5 separate regions of the Homo sapiens genome follow, and regions 2, 3, 4 and 5 are each linked to region 1. The links are contacts of gene promoters, found by promoter capture Hi-C in blood cells and fetal thymus (Javierre and others, 2016). All regions are on one chromosome and are shown on one strand. Each heading gives the region's core, a stretch centred on a gene start or on the middle of the fragment in contact. The rest is flanking DNA. Distances are from core to core; before and after follow the strand shown.

The links. Contacts are between HindIII fragments. The CHiCAGO score rates a contact against its expected background, and 5 or more counts as called.
Region 2: a contact is called between the fragment with the promoter of GPR180 here and the fragment with the promoter of MIR17HG in region 1, in 9 of 17 cell types (non-activated CD4 T cells, naive CD8 T cells, total CD8 T cells and 6 more). The highest score is 30.4, in non-activated CD4 T cells.
Region 3: a fragment that was not itself captured here is called in contact with the fragment with the promoter of MIR17HG in region 1 in 6 of 17 cell types (naive CD8 T cells, total B cells, total CD4 T cells and 3 more); the score reaches 10.5 in naive CD8 T cells.
Region 4: a fragment that was not itself captured here is called in contact with the fragment with the promoter of MIR17HG in region 1 in 9 of 17 cell types (total B cells, total CD8 T cells, naive CD8 T cells and 6 more); the score reaches 19.5 in total B cells.
Region 5: a fragment that was not itself captured here is called in contact with the fragment with the promoter of MIR17HG in region 1 in 9 of 17 cell types (naive CD8 T cells, total CD4 T cells, non-activated CD4 T cells and 6 more); the score reaches 12.7 in naive CD8 T cells.

Annotation. Positions count from the first base shown.
Region 1 is chr13:91,346,031-91,349,636 of GRCh38, forward strand. It overlaps MIR17HG (miR-17-92a-1 cluster host gene), which reads left to right and starts at 1,657. Exons shown (of 3, transcript NR_197388.1): 1 at 1,657-1,929. RefSeq lists enhancers at 1,146-1,225, 2,695-3,242, 3,243-3,606 and silencers at 1,326-2,105, 2,156-3,145. The HindIII fragment of the contact is 6,871 bases long and covers 1-3,606 here.
Region 2 is chr13:94,600,150-94,603,755 of GRCh38, forward strand. GPR180 (G protein-coupled receptor 180) reads left to right here and starts at 1,708. Exons shown (of 9, transcript NM_180989.6): 1 at 1,708-1,923. The coding sequence starts at 1,779. RefSeq lists an enhancer at 1,446-1,740 and a silencer at 1,519-2,118. The HindIII fragment of the contact is 8,659 bases long and covers 1-3,606 here.
Region 3 is chr13:94,582,358-94,585,963 of GRCh38, forward strand. It overlaps TGDS (TDP-glucose 4,6-dehydratase), which reads right to left. Exons shown (of 12, transcript NM_014305.4): 5 at 737-879. Among named protein-coding and RNA genes, the nearest start is that of TGDS, 12 kb to the right of the region's middle. The HindIII fragment of the contact is 9,535 bases long and covers 1-3,606 here.
Region 4 is chr13:94,552,514-94,556,119 of GRCh38, forward strand. It overlaps LOC124903191 (a long non-coding RNA gene), which reads left to right. Exons shown (of 2, transcript XR_007063836.1): 2 at 1-654. Among named protein-coding and RNA genes, the nearest start is that of TRF-GAA1-5, 4.6 kb to the left of the region's middle. The HindIII fragment of the contact is 3,767 bases long and covers 1-3,606 here.
Region 5 is chr13:94,536,272-94,539,877 of GRCh38, forward strand. It overlaps a transcript of DCT not described here. Among named protein-coding and RNA genes, the nearest start is that of TRF-GAA1-5, 12 kb to the right of the region's middle. The HindIII fragment of the contact is 1,831 bases long and covers 690-2,520 here.

The DNA of each region.
Region 1 (3,606 bases), core at 407-2,906:
CTTCCAAAATCCTGATTACCATAAAAAAGGGTATACATTAAGAATTATTTCTTATACTGTAGTCACAGAAAATAGTTGCTTGTATGTCAGATTTCCACAGAAATATAGTGAGATACCTAAAAACAGCTTTTTAAAGCTAGTAGTATTTCAATGTTGACTTTAATTGGAAGGAAACTATGAGATGAATAACTCCTGCTAAGAAACCTGTATATAGGTGGGATTTCCCATGATTCAGAGAGTGTGATGAACAATCTTACTCACAACATCCCCCCGCCTCAACCATTCTAATTTGAAACAGAAGATAAAGTTTTAAAGAAAAAGGCATTGACATATTAGTCAATGCCGACCAAAAGTAACGTAAAATTAGACTTGTAATAAAATTAGCAGTGTTTTCCTCTTTGAAACGTTCATAAATGACTATATTACAGAAATATTAGATATTGTAAAATTTCAGATTTGGCCTTTTATTTTGATTTACAAAGAAAGGAATATCTAGAAACTAGACTCAATAAAAAAAAGAGTAGCAAAACTTTAATCCACTATTTTTTATGTCATCACTAGTTTGACAATTGGATTTAAGCAAAGCATGATAAAATAAGTCAAAGACAGTAAATGACAATACTGTCAAGGTTTGAATGTCAAAAATTTTAACATTGGGGCATTAAAGACATCCTTTGGTAATGTGTGTTTTACAGTTGACTTGTACAATCACGAACCAGTGATATGTGCTTTGCAGTAGCTACTTACTAGATTTAAACCAATTTATAATTGCTGTATTTCTCGTAAATGTTATGAATCCTCACTTTTAACAATTATGTTTCTGAGAATTCCGGAATTTCCTGAACCACAATGTGAAGAAGGAGGTGCTCCTGATTGGGCTTCTTTTCTCAGCTTTGTGGTTGTTTATGAGGTTCTTTCCGAGCTATGCTATTTCTACTGGAGAACCCAGAGTTCTTACTAAATGCAGCTGGGCATGAGAGGGGAGGCTCAGGTACTGCAGCTGTGAAACCTCTGCTCGGGCATGCGTTTTGGTTTACACGCGGCCAGGTTAAGGAAACACATTGCCACGAAGTGTGCATTCACAAGAGTGTCGGGTGTAATGTATTTATTTCTGGGTCTCAAACGATCTTTGCAGCGAGTAATTCTGTTTCGATGTTAAAGTCACTGGATTTTACTTCTCTGGTTCCGGTTGGCCTGGAGCAGGCCCCTAATTACCTCGGAAACCCACCAAGGGCCGGTAAAGTAATAAACTGTGATCGCACAGCGTACACGTCGAGTCCCAGGGAGAGCAGGGCTCCCAGGAAGCCCCGGGAAGCGTGCGCTTCCAGGAGGGTGTGCGGCGCGCGGGGGTCTGCACGCGCGCAGAGCTTGTTAACGGAGGGCGTGCCGGAGGCGTGGCGCGAGGTGTTCGGGCGAGGCGCTCCGCGAGGCTGGCGGCGGTGGGCGGGCCACGGGGGAGCGCGGCCCGGGGAAGGCTGCGCGGCGCCGCCAGCGGCTCCCGGCTCCCGCTCTCCCGGCCGCCAAGAACGAGCCGCCGTGGGCGGGGCCTGCGGTGATTGGCGGGCGGGCGGGGAGGTCGGAAGTACTTTGTTTTTTATGCTAATGAGGGAGTGGGGCTTGTCCGTATTTACGTTGAGGCGGGAGCCGCCGCCCTTCATTCACCCACATGGTCCTTCGAGGTGCCGCCGCCGCCGCCCGACCTGCGCCTTCGCGCCACTTCGCGCCCTCGGGCGAGGCCGAGGGGGTGGGGACGACTACCGCAGCGCCGCCGGGGCTCGCGCTCCTCCGCGAAGCTCTCCTCGCGGGGCGGGCCGGCCGGCCGCACCCCCGGCCTGGGGCCTCCGGTCGTAGTAAAGCGCAGGCGGGCGGGGAGGCGGGAGCAGGAGCCCGCGGCCGGCCAGCCGAAGATGGTGGCGGCTACTCCTCCTGGTGAGTCTGCCCGCCCCTCCGGCGACGGAGGGAAACCTGTTGTGTGCGGCCCGGGTCTGGCGGGCGGGGCGGAGCGGCCCGGGGCGGACTGGCCCGGGGCAGCGTGGCGGCGGCGGCGTGGCCGGGGCGGGTCTCGGCCGTTGGCCGCCCCGGCGTGTGGCAGCCGCATCTGGCTGCCCCCTCGCTCGCCCGCGGGCCGGCGGAGGGGGGCAGGGCCGGGGCGGGAGGGTGGGAGGGGGCGGCGTGCGCGTGGCGGCCGCGCCCGGGACCCGCGCAGACCCTGCCTGGGCCGACCCGAAGGCGGGTGGGCGGACGGCGAACACAATGGCCCCTCGGGGAGAGGACGTGCGAGGCCCGTGCCTTCTCCGGGGCCCGGGGCGCGCGCGGGGCGTGGGGTCTCTGGGTAGGAAAGTTTCTCCCGAGGGCGAGAGTTAAAGCGCCTCCAGAACAAAGCGGCGGCGGCGGCGGCACATGGGGCAGGCCGCGGGCCGGGAGGGGGCGCGCCCACGAGGTACCTGCGCGCCAGCGGGCGGCGTGGCGTGGGCGGGAGCCCGCGGTTCCCCAAACTTTGTACGCGCGAGGGTGGGCGGAGGGGCGCCGAGATCGGCGCGGCCTGGGCGCCACCCCCGCTCCGCGTGGGCTTTGTTAGCCCGCGTGGGCAGCCTCGGGGCGGGGCCCGCAACTTCCCCGCCGTGGCCCTCGGAGGAGGCCGCAGTCGGCCTCAGCCGCGGCGTGGAGCCGCCTGCGCCCGGCCGCTTGCTGGGAGTGTGGCGCGGGAGGGCCAGCCCGGCTCGGCGGGAGCGGCGTCCCCGCCGCCATGTTCCTGCGGGGCGGGCTGCACGGGGGTGAGGGCGGGGGACATGGCGGCGACTGCGCGCCGCCGCCGATTGTTCCCGGCTTAGGCCTCGGGCCGCGTGCGACGGGCACCGCGGCCGCGGAGCCCCCGCCCCTCTGGGCCGGGCTCGGGGGGGCTGGGGGACACAAAGGAGGGGCGGCGCGCCCGCGTCCCCGCCGCACTCGGGCCTCGGCGCCGCCGGTCGCCGCGCGGCTGCCGCCGGGAAACGGGTTGGGGGGGTTGCCGCGTCCGGCGGGGCCTGACTCTGACCCGCCGCCCCCTGGCGGCTACGCGGAGAATCGCAGGGCCGCGCTCCCCCTTGTGCGACATGTGCTGCCGGCCCGGGCTCCATGAGCGTGGCGGGCACTTTGCAGTCTCGGGTGTTCCTGCCCGGTCTTCTGTTCCTAAACTGCAGCAAAGGGAAAAGGAACTGAAAAAGGCAGGCTCGTCGTTGCAATATCACCAAAAGAGAAAATTAACGGCATGCCATCAGGACCACAGCAGTTGGAGAAACAACTCTTTATCCCGGCTTGCAGCCACGAGGTCTTGATTGGGGGAGGGGTGGTGAAGAATAGTCTGTGGGCTGCTTTTTTTTTTTCCTTTTACTGGAGCTGTACAGTGGAGTCGGTGATTGCTGCTGATCATAATCAAGTATTTTAGGAGCTTATTTAGACATGTATCTGATAGCTAAGGATTTTTCAACTTTATTCTCTTACGTATTTTTCAACTGTAAATTATTGGGCTTTTAAATCCTGCTAGTATTGCTCGACTCTTACTCTCACAAATGGATGGAATTAATTGCTGTTAGGAGGTTGGAAAATAGCAAATATAGATTTGGACGG
Region 2 (3,606 bases), core at 458-2,957, 3.3 Mb after region 1:
GGACAGCCAATTTCTTATCTGCCTCACAGAAAAGGTGGGGATTTGCAAAGGGCATAGCCTCTGGTCCTTTTGTTACTTAGGGTGGAAAGTTAGGGTTTTCCTTTAATAGTTCTAGAAAGTCGGTGTAAAAACGCCTTAGGTTCCCTCACCCCAGGCCCTATTCTCCTGCCTCACTTTCATTAAGACAGGTATAGCCAGCAAGGTGGCTTACGCCTGTAATCCCAGCACTTTGGGAGGCCAAGGCGGGCAGATCACCTGAGGTCGGGAGTTTGGGACCAGTCTGATCAACATGGAGAAATCCCATCTCTACTAAAAATAAAAAATTAGTCGGGCATGGTGGCGCATGCCTGCAGTCCCAGCTTCTCGGGAGGCTGAGGTGGGATAATCGCTTGAATCCGGGAGGCAGAGGTTGAGGTGAGCCGAGATCGCGCCATTGCACTCCAGTCTGAGCAACAAGAGTGAAACTCCGTCTCAAAAAAAAAAAAAGTGTAGTCACTGACCAGCTGGAGCTGACAATAGAGGCGGAGATTTCAGACACATGAATGGATACTTACAGTACAGTGCGTGAGTGCTCTGGTAGGGAAGTAAGGGATTCTGGTTCCAGGGGCATCTACTACAGACTTAGGGGTTTGAGAAAGGCTTCTTAAAGTGCCTTGGGAAGGAGGAGTAAAGGAGGAAAAGGAAGGTGAGGAGGTCCAGTGTTGGAATAAGCAGAAGTATTCTAGCCAGAGGGATCAGGGAGTGATATAGGCCTAGAAGGGAGAACTTGGGAGTGTTCAGGAAACCAACGGCGGTAAGGATGGAGATGAGAAAAAACAGACATTTGAGAGTTGAAGAGCCATATTCTAGAGTTTGGGTTGTGTGCTAAAGGCAATTGAGAACCTTTCAAGGCAAGTGCAGCAAATTGTTTCCTACAGCTTTCTGTGGCTGTAGGGTAGAGATGGATTGTAGCCAATTAGAATGAAGACTGTAGAGACGGTCTTTGCCATAGGCCAACAAAGTGATGAACTGAGTAGGACTGTGGCCGCTGCTTCCCACCCTCACCAGAAGAAGGGCTAATCCACACTTGTTATTGAATTGATTGAATTGCGGGGGGGGGGGGGCCTACAATTCCCAGCGGTCTGGTCTGCGGGCGGGGGTGGGGGTGGGGGTAATGTAATTCGAGAAGCCAGAGAACCTAGGAGGGAAAAATCGGCTGGAGATGCCAAGAGAAGGCATGCGTTAAATTGTGGTCATGCGGAGCTAAGTGTCTTTGAGACATTAAATCGGACACGTCCTGTAGGTTATACAGGCGCCAAGGAAGAAAATCTGCATAAGAACACAGTTTTTTCTTTGCGGGAGTTTAACTCTCTCGGCCAGAAACAGTCCTGTCCTGCATTTCTTAAGTTTTTTCCGAATCCCACAAGCCCTTCGAAGGCCCCGCGGACTCGTGCCAGCGCGCCCGCGCATGCTCAGTAGCAAGACGTGCTAGGCAATGAGGAGGGAGATGAGTTTTCCGTAACCTGAAGCAACATCCTCCTGATTCCTCATTAAAGAAAAAGGCGGGAACTAGTCAAAAGCCGGGGACTGATGGGACGCTAGGATCTGCGCGTCCCGCCCATTTCGGCCTCTGACTGGTGAATGTCTTCGGCTTATGGCAGAGGAGCCCGCCTCATTGGCTCTCAGGCTCCAGAGCAGCAGGTCTCCGGCGCCCACCCCGCCTCCCCCAGCTGCCGACGTGGGGCGGGCAGCCGCCGGCGGCTGGGAGCCGAGGCGTCGGTGCAGACCTGGAGACGGGCATGGGGGGGCTGCGGCTGCTGGCTGTGGCCCTCACGTGCTGCTGGTGGCCGCAGGGCAGCCAGGGTAAGACCCTGCGGGGCAGCTTCAGCAGCACCGCGGCCCAGGACGCCCAGGGCCAGCGCATCGGCCACTTCGAGTTCCATGGTAGGTCTGGGGGCGGGGAGGGGGATGAAGGCGCGCTGGCCCATCCCGCCGGCTGAGTCCGCCGGCCGCTCCTCCCGGCCCCTCCCTGCCACGTTGGGCGAGGCCGGCGACTTCCCCAGCCTCACCTGGACCTCCAGCGTTGCAGCAGCTGCCGCGAATGGTGGGATGCGTTCCTTGCCAACCCCGCTGGTGCGGCTTTCCAGCCCCAGGCAGCGGCCTCTCGCCACTAGTGATCGTGTTCCGCACCTGAAAGCTGGTTTCCATTTCCCCAACCCTCCCCTTGGAAGCCAATGTGCAAAAGACTGGTCGGCCGCATCTTTCCAGATCCTTCCCGCAAAGAAGCATATTTGCTCCTTCCTGTCTCGGCCACACTGTGACGGGAGAATTTAACCCTAGAAACTTAAATTTCCTTTTTTTTTTTTTTTTTTTTAAAGACCAATTTCCTGAGACCTACTTGCAACAGAGTGGTTTTGGAAACCAAGTAAAACACTTGATAATGTAGTTGTTATATTGAGCAGTTTGGTTACTTGGCTACTAGGGCAGTAGATTTACTATGGGCAGTAAGGCCTAGAATTAAGCTGATGAAAATGCATTTAAGTAGCATCTTGGAAGCTCCCTAATTTGTGTTCTGTGTGGCTCTTCTGAAATCAGAGTTGCGTTTGATTTCAGACCTTTTGGTCTTCCTCAAAAATCAGTAATTATTCCTTCAATAAATGCATTTGCAATTCATTCTAATTTTGGTCTCATTTGCACTCTCACAATTTAAGTGTTTTTCTTGGTACTCTTAATTTGACTAGTGCTGTATTTCAAATAATTATTTGCCTTGATGACATTAGGAACTTTGATTTGTACAGTCTTTAGCATTAAAAGATGCAACGATGAACATCAGAATATTGGCCTAGAAAATATTGTTAGGAGAAGATAATAGAAACGGAACTACTTTGGTGAGAAAAGGAATTTAAAGTATTGGGAAATTACAGAATTGACAGAATAAAGGGAAGGGATCCTGATTTTTTTTTTTTTTGAAGTTTTTAAGATAGCTAAGAAAAGGAGTTTCAGTAACCCAGTTTTTCAAAATCCAATGTGGAATATATTTTGGGTGAATGAAGAAGAAACACTAGAAACAATTTTATTATTTTTTGTAACATTTTGAGTTTCTCATTCAACGGACTGTAACCATACTTTGAGTATTGACAGCCACTGTCTTAAATGGCACAATGTGGACAGTGTTGGAAAATGTGGGATGTATAGAAGACGTGGGTTATTACTTAGGACCAGCAGAGAGACTTGGACGACCTCATAGTTCCTGATGATCATCTGGTAAACGTGGAGGAGAAACATGTACTAAATTCAGATTTCTCAAGACAGATTGGGGATAAGGTGTTTCAAGTGCGTTCATTCTGTTTCATATGTGTAAAATCACATATAGTTATTACCAATTTTCATGAATCCCAATTCAGTAAAATAATAATACAAAAACTATACTGAAACAATGAACTGTAACTCGGAATGCAATTTACAGTGTCAATTGGGCCTCAGAGTCACTTGTAAGACTTCAAAATATGTAATCAATTTATGTAAGAGACTTGCACATTCTTTGATATATATACTGTATATTTAAATATATTTAAAATGTTTAATCAAAGTGGTAATTATAGTAATAAAAGCATAGAAAAAAAATTT
Region 3 (3,606 bases), core at 643-3,142, 3.2 Mb after region 1:
GAGTGGGACAAAAAGGTGAGATTTGCAATTCTCTTGCAAAATTACAAATAAATCTGTACCTAAAGAGAATTCTGGGGCATGAAAAAATAAATGAATAAGTCTCTACCAAGACTAGGCTGTTGTTCCCCATTTGGGGAGGTATCACTTGATCTGAACAGAGGAGACAATAGAATAATATTCTATGACGGTTAACACTAAGTGTCAACTTGACGGGATTGAAGGATACAAAGTATTGATCCTAGGTGTGTCTGTGAGGGTGTTGTCAAGGGAGATTAACATTTGAGTTAGTGGGCTGGGAAAGGCAGAGCCACCCTCAATCTGAGTATGCACCATCTAATCAGCTGCCAGAGTGGCTAGAATATAAAGCAGGCAGAAAAACATGAATAGACTAGACTGGCCTAGCCTCCCAGCCTACATCTTTCTCCCATGCTGGATGCTTCCTGCCCTCGAACATCTGACTCCAAATTCTTCAATTCTGGGACTCAGACTGGCTCTCCTTGCTCCTCAGCTGGCAGATGGCCTATTGTGAGACCTTGTGATCGTGTGAGTTAATACTTAATAAATTCCCCTTTATATATCTATTCTATTAGTTGTGTCCCTCTAGAGAACCCTAATACACTCTGAAGAGTGCCACAAGTGTATATAATTTGAGGATGAAAAAAGCCCAGTGTAGGTTTAATAAAACTGTATCATGGTACATGGTTAAGTAGGTAAAATATACATTTTCTAAGCTCACCTTATCAAGACTGCCACCATATACTTCATCTGTGCTGACATAAATAAACTTCTCCACTCTGGCTTCATGAGCAGCACTTACCAAAACGTGAGTGCCATAAACATTAACATAGGTAAACTCAAAGGCACGTACGAATGAAAGATCTAAAAGAAAAGAGTGAAAAGCTAAAACAAGTCTACCCAACGGATAAAACAAATGCCAAATGATGGACTCAGGTTTAAGGAGAGTACTAGTCACTGTTCTTCATTTACCACAGCTGCAAGAGTTATAATAATAACATACACAGGCAGTCATATTTATGATTTCTTTAAACCTAAATTACATAGTACATGTAAATTCTCAGAACCCAGAAAACTAATGTTAAATTTGCAGGAAAGTTTTTTATTCTATAAGGAAGAAAATTTAAAAATAATACATGAAAATTTAAAATGTTTTTAAATTAAAAAAAATTATGAATTACAGGGATAGGCTTTTTAAGATCAATCTGTTACTGCTGAAAGCAATAAATGCTGAATGAGTTATTTAAACATAAATTCACCTTACAAGAATTGAACCTCTATAACCAGGAAACGGAAGGAACTTCCTTAATGATGAATCACAATCCAGAAGCAATAATGGAAGAGGATGATAAATTTGACCATATAAAAATTTTGCATGGTTAAAAAACTAAAAACAAATTAAAAAGACAAAAATGACAAACTGGGAAAAACCATGTGAAATTACAGAGATAAAGGGTTAGTATCGTCAATTTATAAAGAACTTTAAATAAATTAAGAACAATCCTATAGTAAAACAGGTAGGAGACATAAACAGTTTAGATGAAGAAATATAAATGGGTCCTTAAGATTACGATGATCAATGTCACTTACAGTAAGAAAAACCCAAATTAAAAACTCAGAGATACCACTTCTTACTTACCAGACTGGCAAAAATTCAAAAAGTTGACAAATCACTTAGTTGTTGAGGCTGTTAGGCAAAAGACACTTTGTACACTGACAATGATGATGTAAAATGTTTACAATTCCCTAAGGAAGGAAACTTGGAAATATCTAGTCAAATTACATAGGCATTTCCCTCTAACCCAGAGTTATGGGCTAAACTGTGTTCTCCCCATAATTCATCTTAAGGCCTAACCCCTTCCCCCAGAACCTCAGAATGTGACTATATTTGGAGATAGGGCTCTTAAGGAGGTGATTAAGTGAAAATCAGGTCTTTAGGATGGGTCCTAATCCGATCTACCTGGTGTCCTTAAAAGAAGAAATGTGGACTCACTGTGTGTTTTGGAATAAAGTAAATGAGTAATTAGGATGGTGCTGTTGAGAACCAAGGTGTTCAGGGTATGGAAAAGATGATATAAATGAAAGACTGAAGAACTTAAACAAAAAATCTCAATGCGGATTGGACATTTCAGTATAAACCCATGTCATATTTAATCTTAAGTAAATAGGCAAATAATATTCCCTAGTTTTGTTAACTGAAAAAGCCTTGACACAATGTCCAATCAGTTAATAAGCACTCCCAGTGCCCAGACTGTGGCCTCTAAACACCATTTCCCACCAAAAGGAACAATGGCTCCTGACAGAAAGGGCTGATTCCAGATCTAGGGGGAAAAACATTGAAGATAAAACTGAAACATCCTATCAAACCAGAAAGTTAGATGGTTGTCAAAGACTGCTAAGGTCATGTCAAAAAGGACTCAGGAAGCAACTAGAAGAGCCTCTCAATGGCTAATGGTGAGTCATTTTGAACATAAATAAGAAAAATAACTGCAAATGATTAAAACAAACAAAATCAAATGTGTTAAAATCTACAAATTCATAGCAATATTAAGAAAAAAGAAAAATGAGGATGCTTGGAAACCAACTCATTATAGTAAAATCTACTAAATAAATAAAAATAATCAGGCACTTAACCTGGCTTTTCCATAACAATTAAATCTCAAGGTAACCAAATAATGTATAAGGAAAACTTTTTTTTTTTCTCTCTCTCTCTGTTGCCCAGGCTGGAGTGTAGTGGCGCAATCTCAGTTCACTGCCACCTCTGCCTCCCAGATTCAAGCCATTCTTGTGTCTCAGCCTCCCGAGTAGCTGGGGTTACAGGTGCCCACTACCACGCCCAGCTAACTTTTTTGTATTTTAGAGATGGGGTTTCACCATGTTGGCGAGGCTGGTCTTGAACGCCTGACCTCAGGTGATCCACCTACCTCAGCCTCCCAAAGTGTTGGGATTACAGGCGTGAGCCACTGCGCCTGGCTGGAAAACTTCTTTTTATGTAGATATTCCAGGTATAAATGAAGAATGACATAATTAGGATATCATTTTGTAAACCCCTAATATAATGACTACTGACTATATAAAATAGTAATAATGTCATCTAGTGGAAATAAAAAAACAAAATAAAATAAGATCAATTTAAAATTCCAGGCAGGACATGGTGGCTAATGCCCGTAATCCCAGCACTTTGGGAGGCCCAGGTGGGTGGATCACCTGAGGTCAGGAGTTTGAGACTAGTATGGCCAACATGGCAAAACCCCGTCTCTACTCAAAATACAAAAAAATAAACCGGGCGTGGTGGCACACGCCTGTAATCCCAGCTACTTGGTAGGCTGAAGCACGAGAACTGCTTGAACCTGGGAGGCAGAGGTTGCAGTAAGCCGAGATCACAACACTGCACTCTGGCCTAGGTGACAGAACAAGACTCTGTCTCAAAAAAAAAAAAAAAAAAATCCAGATAAAAACTGAGTTAAAAATAGCTAAAAATGGAGTTGGAAATTAAATAGGAAGAGGGCAAAGGTTTTGATGAACTTTACACTTTGATAAGCTAATTACACATCTGTAATTTGTAGAGTAACCACTCCAAGAGTACAAACA
Region 4 (3,606 bases), core at 541-3,040, 3.2 Mb after region 1:
TGGCTTGGGAGGCTGCCCTTGAAAAAAAAAAAAAGAATGAAATAAAAGTGTAACTTTTCTTTCAATTTATATGTATAATTTTTTTCAAGTGGCTACGAAGTTGTTGGACATAAATCCTTATTAAGTTATTTGGACCTGAGTACTTAATAAAAGGAATTGTTCGGCATTTCTTTTGGCCTGGGGGCATTGGAAAAAATTACTGAGACAGTAAGAGCTGCCTGTGAACAGAGAAAGCGAAAAACAATTATTATGAGTTTGGGAAAAACCTTGCTTTACTCAGCAAGATTGCAGCGCAAAGAAGAACTGTCAGAACATCCAAGGAGACCAAGCGCCACAGGCTAAATAAAGTGAAGTGAAAATCTGTGCACACACATCATAGTAAGAAGAGACAGGTGATAAAGAAGTTGGCATTCAAAATGAGGATAAAGATGTTGAAGAAGACTCTGTGTTGGAAAGAAACTGTGTAAGCTGCAGTCCTGTTTTCCAAATGAGCTCGCGGATTTTGGCCAACTCCAGTCTAATTACCTATGATTAAAAAAACCAGCTAATTACGAGAACTAACTAGCAGATCTGAGAATAATAAAACTGAAGAGAGTATGTTGCATATAGTTATAACAGCTAATAAATTTTTGTGGGTTTTTTTGTTTGTTTTGAGATGGGAGTCTTGCTCCATTTATTGCCCAGGCTGGTCTCGAACTCCTGGGCTCAAGGGATCTTCCCAGGTAGCTGGGATTACAGACACACACAACTGTGCCCCACTTCTGATAAAAATTTAAATGGCTGTTAATTAATCTCTCCTTCAGTTTGCTCCTTGGGATTCTGCAGTGCACATGCATACACACACACACACATGCACACACACACACACATTTTTGGGGGCCTCTGATTTTAATCAATATTTCTTTAAAGTATTTTAAAAATGATGGGGGTATGTCAAAAGGACCTAGGAACCAGTTTGAAGGGGCTCCTACTGGCCAAAACTGGGACAATCTGAGCATCAAAATAAATAAGAATATTAATGGATTATTTACCCTTTGAATAAAATAAAAGTCCTTTAGTACAATAATTGTGTGGTGGATGCAGGGGAGGAATTGAGGATTCTTATAGCTGAATGAAGTGTGCAGACTGACAAATTTGGAGGTAGTGGTAGCACGGGATATCACCATTTTCCAAACATCATAGTAAAGATTGATTCAGTCAAGAATCATCAATGGATGTTAAGTCTAAGGGGGGACAGTTAAACGAGGAGCAGGATCATTGCATGGCCTCAAAGTATTTCTCCACAGATTGCTTAAACTGCACAGTGGAGAAAACGGACAATGCCATGATCCGGTCATCAAAATTAGCATCACCAATGTAGGACATTCGGTCATCACATGCCTTCTATTGTGATGCCCTGTAAAAGACACAACACACACAGTGCTCCAGGCAGGGAAGCAGAACCTAACTTTAATCATGGAGCAGCATTATACAAACCCCAAGTAAAGGTCATCCTAGTAAATAAATGGCCTGTATTATTCAAAACTGTTAAGGTCACGAAAGCAAAGAAAAGCTGAGGAACTGTTCCATATGCAAGGAGGTGAAAGAAACACAACTCAGTGCAATGTGTAATCCCAGACTGGTTCCTATTCTGGAGGAGAAAATGCTTTAAAGGGTGCTATTGGGACAACTAATGAAATTGGAACATGAGCTGCAGATTAGATGAGTGTGTTTTATCAGTGCTAAATTTCCTGAAGTTGGCAACCATAGTTAGGTAAGAAATATCCTTGTTTCAGGAAGTACATACTGAACTATTAAGGGATGAGAGACAATCCACTCTCAAATAGATTCTGAAAATAAATAATAGTATGCATACATATTATTATATATGTAAACATATACACACATGCATGTGTATATATGAAGATAATATTAAAAAATAGAAACAAATATTAAAATTTGGCGTATCTGAGTAAAAGGTATATGGAATTCTTCTGTATCATTTTATAACTTTTCTAAAAATTTGAAACTCAGACCAAGCATGGTGACTCACACCTATAATCCTAACATTTTGGGAGGCCGAGACCAGAGGATCGTTTGAGCCAAGGAGTTTGAGGCCAGACTGGGCAACAATAGGGAAACTCTGTCTCTACAAAAAAAAAAAAAAACAAATTAGGCCGGGGGAGGTGGCTCAGGCCTGTAATCCCAGAACTTTGGGAGACCAAGGCAGGTGGGTCACATGAGGTCAGGAGTTCAAGACCAACCTGGCCAACATGGTGAAACCCCATCTCTACTAAAAATACAAAAATTAGGCAGGTATGGTGGCGTGGCACCTGTAATCTCAGCTACTCATGAGGCTGAGGCAAAAGAATCGCTTGAACCCAGGAGGCAGAGGTTGCAGTGAGCTGAGATCACGCCACTGCATTCCAGCCTGGGGAACAGAGACTCTGTCTTAAAAAAAAAAATTAAAAAATTAGACAGGTGTGGTGGTACACACTTGTGGTCCTAGCTACTTGACTTGAATGGCTAAGGCAGGAGAATCGCTTGAGCCTGGGAGGGAGAAGCTACAGTGAGCTGTGATCATGCCATGCACTCCAGCCTGTGTAACACAGTGAGACCCTGTCAAAAAAAAAAAAAAATACCCTCAGATTTGTTTTTAAAATAAAAAAAATAAATAAATAATGTTTGGCGGTCTTCTTGAGCCAAGACAATTTCAGTTAGAATCATACTATAGCTAAGAGCTGGAAGAGAATTTAGCATTTATTTCGCCTGACCACAAATTTTACGCTAATGCTCCGGAGACACTAATAAGTAACTTGCTTGAGATTACCGTATCAGTCTTCTCGGGCTGCCATAACAAAATACCGTAGACTGGGTGACTTAAACAACAGAAATTTATTTTTTCACATTTTGGAAGCTGGGAAGTCCAAGATCAAGGCTTTGGAGGATTGGGTTCCTGGTGAGGGCTCTCTTCCTGGCTTGCCGAGGCCACCCTCTCTGTGTGCCCACATGACCTTTCCTCCGTGTGTGTATGCGTGTGGAGAGAGAAGGCTTCCACATCTCACAAGGCCATCAGTCCTATCAGATTAGAAACCCACGCTTACAACCTCTTTAGCCTTCATTACCTCCCAAAAACGCTACATCCAAATACAGTCACATCGGGGTTAGGGTGTCAACATATTAATTTTGGGGGGACATATTTTTTAGTCCACAGCAATTACACAAACTGATACAGCGCTGACTGCTGACCCATAGAGCATATTCCTTACCTTGCACCAAATACTCTTAATATTTTTCATAAAGACTGTTTCAATGAAAAATTGGCATGAGAATAAAAAACCCAAACTTGAATCTAGGGCTAGGGCCCAGTTTTCTCCTGCAGATGCTTTTTTATGGGCATGTATATGCTTTTTGAACGAAGTTGCTTGATGGATACAAAGCGATTCCTCCAAAGTTATATATTAAAGTTGTAACTTAGGGGAGAAGTATTTAAAAAAATTAATAGCTTGCAAAGATCATCAGTGTGCTGAATTGATCCAAAAGAAGTTAATTTATTTAAAGCCATTAAACCACAAGTCCATAAAGACCTTATTGTTTTTTGTTTTTGTTGAATCACAGACATCAATA
Region 5 (3,606 bases), core at 355-2,854, 3.2 Mb after region 1:
GGACAGAGTAATGTTCTGGGAGCAGCCAGGGCCTGTGATGCCTCCAAGAAGCTGCTCTTCAAAGGGGACCTCCCAAACATGCCTGCTAAAGACCAACCCAGTGTAACCTAGTGATGTAGTCTGGATGTTTGTTCCCTCCAAATCTCATGTTTAAATGTGATCCCCAGTGTTGGAGGTGGGGCCTGGTGGGAGGTGTTTGGGTCTTGGGGTGGATCCCTCATGAATGGGTTGGTGCCCTCCCCATGGTCATGATTTAATATTCAGTCTATGAGTTTTCACATGAGAGCTGGTTGTTAAAAAGGGTCTGGTACCTCCTCTCTCTTGCTCCCTCTCCCGCTATGTGACACATCTGCCTCTGTGTCACCCTCTGCCATGAATAAAAGCTTCCTGGCTGGGCACGGTGGCTCACGCTTGTAATCCCAGCACTTTGGGAGGCCGAGATGGGTAGATCACCTGAGGCCAGGAGTTCGAGACCAGCCTGGCCAACATGGTGAAACCCCTTCTCTATTAAAAATACAAAAATTAGCGGAGGTGTAGTGGTGGGAGCTTGTAATCCCAGCTACTCTGAAGACTGAGGCAGGAGAATTGCTTGAACCCAGGAGGCAGAGGTTGCAGTGAGCCAAGATTGCGCCACTGCACTCCAACCTGGGCAACAGAGAGAGACTCCACCTCAAAAGCAAAAACAAAAAAGCTTCCTGACACTTCACCAGAAGCTGAGCAGGTGTGGGTGCCATGTTTGCCCAGCCTGCAGAACCATGAACCAAATAAATCTATTTTCTTTATAAATTTCCCAGTGTCACGTGTTCCTTTATAGCAATGCAAAACAAGCTAACACACCTGGTAACCCTGTAAGAATAATTGAATTGGTAATTGGCGGATCAAGTAAAATGTTTCCATTATTAGGACATGTATCTATTTGTGCCAGACTGTTAGTTTCTTTAAATTTCTCTGAACACAAAATCTTTAGTTCTCAATCTCAGTTACATCTGAAAGGTTTCCCAAATCTCATTTCTCTAGAAAGTTCTTCAAACCTTCCATTTAAAAATAGCAGTCAGAACATCTAGTAACTTGAAAGATGGGGAGAATGCTGTTGTTGCTAAGACATTTTTTGAATGTCAACCATGTAATGTGTGACTATGATCCTGGTTCATAGGATTACAACCTAAATTAACCCAAGTTAGTGTCCTGGCAGATGGCCGTTCCTAAACTGCCTAAACTTGTCTCTGTCTCTGTTAGATTAAGACAATCCCATGATCTTTTTGAAGTACTAACAAAGACTTACAGCTTCCTGCTCTCCTGTGCTGCCATGTTGAAGAAGATGTAGAGCCTTTTTTATTGCTTTCTACAAATTATGCAAGTGAGAAAAAAAAACAAATAAAAACGAAAACACTGAAAATCATCCATAACCTTAAATTAACCATACAACCTTTTTAGTCCTGAAATAGTTGCTTACTGTTAAGTCAATAGATGTAAACAAGCAATTCTTGAGAACCTAAAATGTTTCTGGCACTTGGCTAGGTGACATAAGATGTGGAAAAGGAATAAGAACGTCAGTGTAGGCTCTCAGAAGAGTTGATTCTCATGTTAGGAAATATAATAAAAACAAGTACAGCCAAGGATTATGATGCAGTGGTGACCCACCATTGGCAGGATGAAAAAAGAGGAGAAGTACTCTTACTCATTCAACAAAAATGCATTGAGCACCTACTATGAGTTTTCTGCTAGTCATGTGAATCCTGACCTTAAGGAGATAATAGCAGCCAGTCAGAAAATCAGACCAATAAAATACACAACCAGAAGATGATATCCAGGTTATTGTGTGGATAAGGTATAGGGAGTACAGGATGGAAGAAACAGCTAAGTTTTCTCGGGCAGCCAAGATGAGATGTTGCGGAAAGTGACTCCTGAAAGAAGGGTGGAGCTTGTAGAGAGTGCTTACTGAGCCTGCAGGACCTGCCTGACTACATGCCAAGCACTCTTCATGGATTATCTTATTTAATTCTCACACTAGCCCTATAAAATAAGGATTTTTATTTTTCTCCATTTTACAGACAGGGAGACTGAAACAAAGAAGAGTTACGGAACTTCTGGATATTACACAGGCAGGGGGTGAGCCTGGAGCTCTGGCCCAGGCAGCCTGCCTCCAGAGGCTGTGCTTCCCACCACCCCTCCCCGCCAAGCCATATGTATACACATAGCCCCAATACCTTGGTATTAGCCTTCTCCCCTGCCTCCTTTTATACCACATCTCCCCCTCTTCTTCATCTATTGTAGTGAGAAAAGCAGATGGACTTGGTGCATTATCCGTCTTTGCTACAATGTAAGAATTCAAGGGTATAAACCATAGACCGTTGTGTTGAGCCCTGAACTTGGATTTTTCAGCCAGGTTCGTTCAGGTTATGGGCTGTCCACTGCCCATCACAAATACAACTGAGACCTCAGATTGAAAAAGAATGAAGTTGCATTCAGTCTCTCTTGTTGCAGTTTCTCTCTTTACCTGGGATGAAGATCATTTTCAGAAGCTTCCCCATCCTAACATGTTAGATAAACTGTCTAAGCTACTCAGCTGCTTCTCCTCCCTCACTCTTAGGATTTGTCTGTTTCTATCTGTGCGGTTTGGCTCTCCCTGTTGTCCTTACCCTTTTCCTTTTGTTCTAAGAGCCCAGCACTACTCTAGCTTCTAGGGGTTATCAGCCCACACCCCTCCAGCTATTCCAGGTCACACAACATCTTTCAGTCCCGACCACCACCAGGCGACACATTAACACCTGCATTTCCAAAGAACTCCAATAGACTTTTTATGACTTTTCACAAAATTCTTAGTCCCCTGCTTTGTTACTAGAACATGAAAATTCTTCCTGAAATCAAACCCACCTTTTGAGGGGCAGTAGAATTTTGCTATGAGGAAGAAAGCACACATTCAACACAGAGAATGAAAGTTGGGACAGGATCACATGCCCAGAGCATAGCAGACGGCAAGCTCTCAGGATGGTCAGAGTGGGAAGAGCTGGATATTAGCTTAAACTATGGAAAACTTTTCATGAAGAGGAAAAACCTGAGAGAACTTGAAAGGTAAGTAGGAATTAAGGTGACGCTAAAGGAATAAGATATGAAATAAACAGGCATCTGAGTGCATTTCTCTATGAGCAATTTACCAACCTATTATTAGAAAATGCTTAAAAGAGGAATGTTTCTTCTGTGTTACTGTACACCTGGATTTCATTCCTGCATACTCAAAGCTAAACCTGCGCAACAAATCAGCTCTTCCTTTTGTAAAAGAAATAAAACCAAATTTTTATGGTTTTATTTATTTTACAAATGACAAAATTATTGTTTGTAAAATAATTGTTCCTGGGATAAGAGATCAGACTATTCAAATAGAGATATAATTTATGGATTTAAAATTAAATTCCTTTCCAACATTATCTTTAGAATTTGAATCAATTAGGGAACATAAACATGATTGCTATTGGGTGAGACTGCCTCTGAATACAAAAATATGGTTTGAAAGCTCAGCTCAGGTTTAGAATCGGTGAGAAAAAAAAAGGGAGAAAGGAAAAGTATGGTGTTGTCAGCATTCAAAGGAGAAGTAATGTGCATCTTTAG